Linked DNA regions of Homo sapiens: region 1 is linked to region 2. The links are contacts of gene promoters, found by promoter capture Hi-C in blood cells and fetal thymus (Javierre and others, 2016). All regions are on one chromosome and are shown on one strand. Each heading gives the region's core, a stretch centred on a gene start or on the middle of the fragment in contact. The rest is flanking DNA. Distances are from core to core; before and after follow the strand shown.

Evidence for each region. Contacts are between HindIII fragments. The CHiCAGO score rates a contact against its expected background, and 5 or more counts as called.
Region 1: a contact is called between a fragment that was not itself captured here and the fragment with the promoter of APOA1 in region 2, in 1 of 17 cell types (total CD8 T cells). The highest score is 6.0, in total CD8 T cells.

Annotation. Positions count from the first base shown.
Region 1 is chr11:116,780,901-116,783,600 of GRCh38, forward strand. ZPR1 (ZPR1 zinc finger) reads right to left here. Exons shown (of 14, transcript NM_003904.5): 10 at 2,630-2,700; 11 at 2,019-2,129; 12 at 1,258-1,344. Among named protein-coding and RNA genes, the nearest start is that of ZPR1, 5.8 kb to the right of the region's middle. The HindIII fragment of the contact is 1,791 bases long and covers 362-2,152 here.
Region 2 is chr11:116,836,372-116,839,362 of GRCh38, forward strand. It overlaps APOA1 (apolipoprotein A1), which reads right to left and starts at 1,251. Exons shown (of 4, transcript NM_000039.3): 1 at 1,234-1,251; 2 at 974-1,036; 3 at 630-786; 4 at 1-40. The coding sequence starts at 1,016. It also overlaps APOA1-AS. The HindIII fragment of the contact is 2,883 bases long and covers 851-2,991 here.

The DNA.
Region 1 (2,700 bases), core at 7-2,506, 55 kb before region 2:
AGATCCAACATCAGTATCAATAAGTGCTATATAAACTGCATGCTGAAAAAATTTAAAAAATAATAATCCTCAAGAAGAAAAAATACTACATCCTTAAGACAGGATGCTATTTTTTAAAAAGCTCCTTGGAAAATAAAAGTTTTAGTGGAAATGAAAACCTCAATTGAAGGGTTGGAAAATAAAGTTGAGGGAATCTCCCAAAGAAGAACAAAAAAACCAAGAAACCAAAAATAGGACCAAAAAAAGAGTAAATTATAGAAGACCAGACAAGTAAGTCTAATATCTAAAACCCAGGAGTTTTCAGAAAGAACAGAAAAAAAAAATCAGAAAAAAGATAATCTTCAATAGAATAATTCATGAAAGCTTCCTAGAACTGAACCACATGAGTTTTCCAGACTGAAAAAATACATCTACCAAGTGCTTAGCCCAGTGGATGAAAACTGACCCACACCAAGGCACACCCTGAAATTTCACATCAAAGGAAACGAAGAGATCACAAGACTAGGTCACATATAAAAGACCAGGAATCAAATGGCTTCAGACTTCTCAATAGCCAAAGTGGAAGACTATAGTACAATGTCTTTACCAAACTGGAAGACCATAGTGCAGTCTTCGAAATTCTGATAAAAAATTATTTCTATCCTAGAATCGTATTCCCAGCCAATAATCACTCTAGTGTGATAACAGAATAAAGACATGTTCAGATGTGGAAGGTCCCAGAAATTTTATTTCCCATGCACTTTTTCCCAGGAAGCTACTGGAGAAGATGCTCTAACAAAATAAGGGAGAAAAACAAGAAAGAAGACGTGGAATATAGAAAACCAGAAGAGGGCCAGGTGCGGTGGCTCACGCCTGTAATCCCAGCACTTTGGGAAGCCCAGGCAGGCAGATCACGAGGTCAGGAGTTCGAGACCAGTCTGGCCAACATAGTGAAACCCTGTCTCTACTAAAAATACAAAAAATTAGCCAGGCGTGGTGGTGTGCGCCTGTAATCCCAGCTACTCGGGAGGCTGAGGCAGCAGAATCGCATGAACCCGGGAGGCAGAGGTTGCAGTGAGCCGAGATCACGCCACTGCACTCCAGCCTGGGCAACAGAACGAGACTCTGTCTCCAAAAAAAAAAAAAAGAAAAGAAAACCAGAAGAAGAATCCCCAACATGATGGTTAGATGTTCAAAAAGTGGCAAGACATGAGCATGCAGCCTCCTGTTCACTGGAGCCCCAGGATTCTAAGTACTGACTGGCCAGTGACCTCTTACCTGGTCCATCTTCTGGCTAAACTCCTGTAGTCTCTCCGTCTGTCCAGGATTGGAACTGTCGCCCAGTGTGAAAGGATTTTTGGTCACCTGCAATAAATGATAATCCAAACTATGTGAATACTGGCTTTATATTTGTTAGGCCTGACCATAAACTAGGCAGGGGGTGACAGTGGGTGCCCTGTCAGGGAAACTTGGTTTCCATTTAGCCCACACCACCTTTCTGACCAAGGCAGTCACTCCTAGGAGTCTATGGGATAATGTGCCAAGATAACAAAACTGGCAATGTAAAACAAAATCGAAACATGTTCTTAGAATATGATCTCTGATACTAATTTGGAGAAGAAATGCAAAGAAAAAGTACAATTTACAAATACAAAATGCCCAACAGAGAATCAAGTGAAATAATTCATCAAGGAGATAAACATTTGGGCTAAGTCAACCCATACATGTATGTTTTTTATGTTGGGAAGTTTTAGGTGCTAGAAGGACCCTCATCCCCTAACTTTACAGTAAAATAAATGACTTGTCCAAGACCACAAAATAACTATAAAGTCCCAAAGTTAGGCCTGGAATTTCCATTCAACATTTCCCATAAACTTGTCTTCACCATCCAAAGTAATATTTAAGTCTCTTAAACCAGCTTTAAGGCAAAGAAACCCACAGTTACCAGCACCGAAAATTAGGATGTCTGAAGTCTTCCAGTCCCTCTTCACACAGCCAAATTGCTCAAAGGTGGTTTACACACTACTCAAGTGACTCACCAGTTCCCGGATGTCTTTCAGCAGCCCTTCCAGTGTGGTGAACTTGCCCCCGAGGACTGCCATTCCCAGTTCAAATTCTAGCTCTGGGATTTCCACACTGCAAGTCTCAGACTGTGAAATGAGAGGTCAGTTTAAGCTTTAAGTCAGAAGCAAAGAAAGCCAACCAGAGGCCTCCTGCCCAATTAATACCAGCAGTGATAGACTGCGGACAAGGGCAGCTGTCTCAGTTTTCTCTGACTCCCTTGTTAAAGCTTGAGACTCACTCCTGTCCATCTGAACCACGGGAATAGATCCAACTTAATAAAGGGAAACTCAGTCATAGCTTCGAGCTGTCAGGTATCCTGTCACTAGGGGACAGACAGAGAAGAGGACCCAGATAGACACTGGAGGCCAAAAAGCTACCAGGTCATCAGAAAGAGCTAACAGGGTCACCTTCTAAACCTGCAATTCCAATCTTAGATTAACTCCCTCTGCTCAGGGGTCCTCAAAGCCAGGGAAGTAGGAGATACCTCATGTCCCTGAACATTATTTCTAAAAGACAACTTCCCCTAGATAGAGACAGTTTATCTAACTTATGAGGACAACAGTGACTTTCCCAAGCAGACTGTTACCTTGAGGAGGTCTCTGGTCATATCTGAGGCATCTGTGATGTGGAGGGTGATCCTGGTGCCCAAGGGTTCTA
Region 2 (2,991 bases), core at 1-2,500:
GGTGGAGGTCACGCTGTCCCAGTTGTCAAGGAGCTTTAGGCTGGAGGGTGAGACAGAAGGGTTGAGGGCTGGCCTCCCAGCGCCCCAGCCTATCAGGGGTGAGCCCTGGGTGACACCTGTCCGCGGAGGTGCAGTGGCCTAGCATTTCCAGTACACTCTCAACCAACACCCCTGCCCCGCCAGGCCATGCCCCGTTGTGCAGCTGGACCGAGGCACAGAGAGGAGCTAAAAAGGAGACAGAGCTGGGACTAGTGCCCAGTTACGTTGGTCTCCAAAGTGGGCCCTTGAAGGACCTCGCTTCTATGCCTCCAGCGCATTCTCCTCTCCGAAGACAGCCCACAGTCTTGCTGGGCAGGAGCAGAGGAGGTGGTGAAGAAGGGAAAGGGGCTTGCTACACTTGCAGGCACAATGTGGCTCTGTGATCACGCATCGGGCAGCCCTGGTCTGTCCTTTGCAGGGGACATGGGCTGTGACCCTGCCTGGAGATCCCATTCCAGTTTCTCCATCCAGACCATCTGTGGGGCCCAGCTCATCAGATATTAGGTGAGGACTCGGCCAGTCTGGCTTCAACATCATCCCACAGGCCTCTGCCCCCTACCCCTGCCCTCAACCCCAGGCTGGGTCCTTACTTTAGCTGTTTTCCCAAGGCGGAGCCTTCAAACTGGGACACATAGTCTCTGCCGCTGTCTTTGAGCACATCCACGTACACAGTGGCCAGGTCCTTCACTCGATCCCAGGGGCTCTGGGGGGGTTCATCTTGCTGCCAGAAATGCCGAGCCTGGCTCCCTGAGGGTGGGAGGGGAGACCCAGATCAGGCCAGCTGTGGGCTGAGATCTGAGCCGAAAGGCCAAGCTTGGAGGTGGGGGAGAGGGGGCCAGTGAGAAACCTGCTGCCTCTGCCCAGGAGGGTGGGCCACGGGGATTTAGGGAGAAAGCCCCCCGATGGTTGGCTCCCTAGGTTAGGGGACACCTACCCGTCAGGAAGAGCACGGCCAAGGTCAGCACCGCAGCTTTCATCCTGAAGGGCCGTGGGGGACCTGGAGGAGAAGAAGGGCCTGGCTGAGTGGGGTGCCTTCAGCATGCAGAAGCCCCGTGCTCCCCCACTCATTGCAGCCAGGTGAGGAGAAGGGCACAGAGCGGGAGAAGACCTCAGGTACCCAGAGGCCCGGCCTGGGGCAAGGCCTGAACCTTGAGCTGGGGAGCCAGAGTGACCGGGGCAGGCAGCAGGACGCACCTCCTTCTCGCAGTCTCTAAGCAGCCAGCTCTTGCAGGGCCTATTTATGTCTGCAGCCAGGGTCTGGGCTGGGAGGCTGATAAGCCCAGCCCCGGCCCTGTTGCTGCTCACTGGTCCTGGCAATGTGGAACTTAAGAGTTCAAGGATCAGCTCTGTCCCTGGGGCTGGGCAAATAGAGTGGGCAAACAGCAAGCTGCGGGGGCTGCAGGGCAGGGGTCAAGGGTTCAGTGGGGGCGGGAGGGGAGTGTCTGCAGGCTTGCAGGTCTCCCGGGTGGGGTCGGGGTTCCCTGCACTCATCCCCTTCCCCTCCATGGGAGTGTGTGGGCAGTTGCCATTGTCCATTGTGTTGGCAGAGGAGGGGAGGGGAGGGACGCTGGGACTCCTCCACCAAGGAGACTGCCTCCCCCACCACCAGCATTCCAGGGAGACTACTTCACTCCCCTCCCCCTTCCCCCGCCCTGTCCTCCCACCAGTGCTCTTCTTTAGTCCCCAGCAGGTCCTCCAGGCCTCTCTCCAAGCCTCCCAAACTGGTAAACCTGGGGAGAGGGGAGAGCCCTCCGTGGCTCCCAGACTGAGGTTTCGGAGACCTCTTGCATTTCAAAACACTCCAGAGATCAATTCGGAGCTGCCAACTTTTAATTTTGTCATGTAAAGATATTGTCCGCCTCCAAAAAACCCTCACCATCTACAGTGACCATCACTTCAAAAAGGAAAGGCTTTAACAAAAAAGGGCATAATCTCAGAATTACATTACAGAATTGAAGCCCCTTAGATTGAAGACGTCTCCCTTTGCATTGTTCACACTTATATTTGATCACGCACAGGTGTGACTGGATCTCAGCCCTTGGGAAGCCCTGGTGTGGGGAGAAGACCTCTGGGCAAAGGAAGTGGCAGGAGACCTGCTTTCTCATTTCACTTGGCCTCCATCTTGCTGGAGGAAGATCGTGGGCAAGTTATATAATCTCTCTGAGCCTCGGTTTTCTATCTGCAAAATGGGGCAAGAATGGTCAGGGTTGTTGGAGGCCCCTGAGACAGCCTGTGAATGTAAAGTGCTGTGTGTCCGTTGGTGTTTGCAGCACCATCTTGTCAGGTTTCTCCTGGAAGGCCCAGACCTCCCCCAGCAGGTTACTGATAGGACCTGAGTCCTAGAGCCTGTGATGCAGGCTGAGAGGAACTGTGACATCACTCCAGCCTCTCCCCATGCCACCATCTCACAGATGAAGAGACTGAAGAGCACAGAGGGACTTTGCCCAGAGGCTGTCATCTCTCAGGGAGTTAGAAGAAAGGCTGGACCTAGAACCCAGTCTCTGGACTTGGGATGCAGGGCAGAAATGTACCCTGTACCATCACTCCAGGAAACTCCCTAACACTAGAAACCAGGCTGACATCTCTGTTTACCAGATCAGGGAGTGGTCGGCCTCATGCCTTTCACTTCAGAGAAGATTCTGGAGCCAGAAAACCTCAAATCTAAGGGTCAGGCAGGTTCAAATCCAGCTGCCTGACCCTGGATGAGTTATGATACATCACCTCCCCACACATCAGTTTCTGATTGAAGATAATGATAGAATATGCCATCGCCCTGAGTTATGGCAGGGGTTACTGTGTGGCAAGCAGAATAACGCTCCCCAAAGATGTCCACAGCCTCATCCCTGGAACCTGTGGCTTTGCTACCTTCCATGGCAAAAAAAGATTTTGCTAGTGTGATTAAGGACCTGGAGATGGGGTGGTTGGCCTGGATTCTCCAGGTGGGCCCATTGT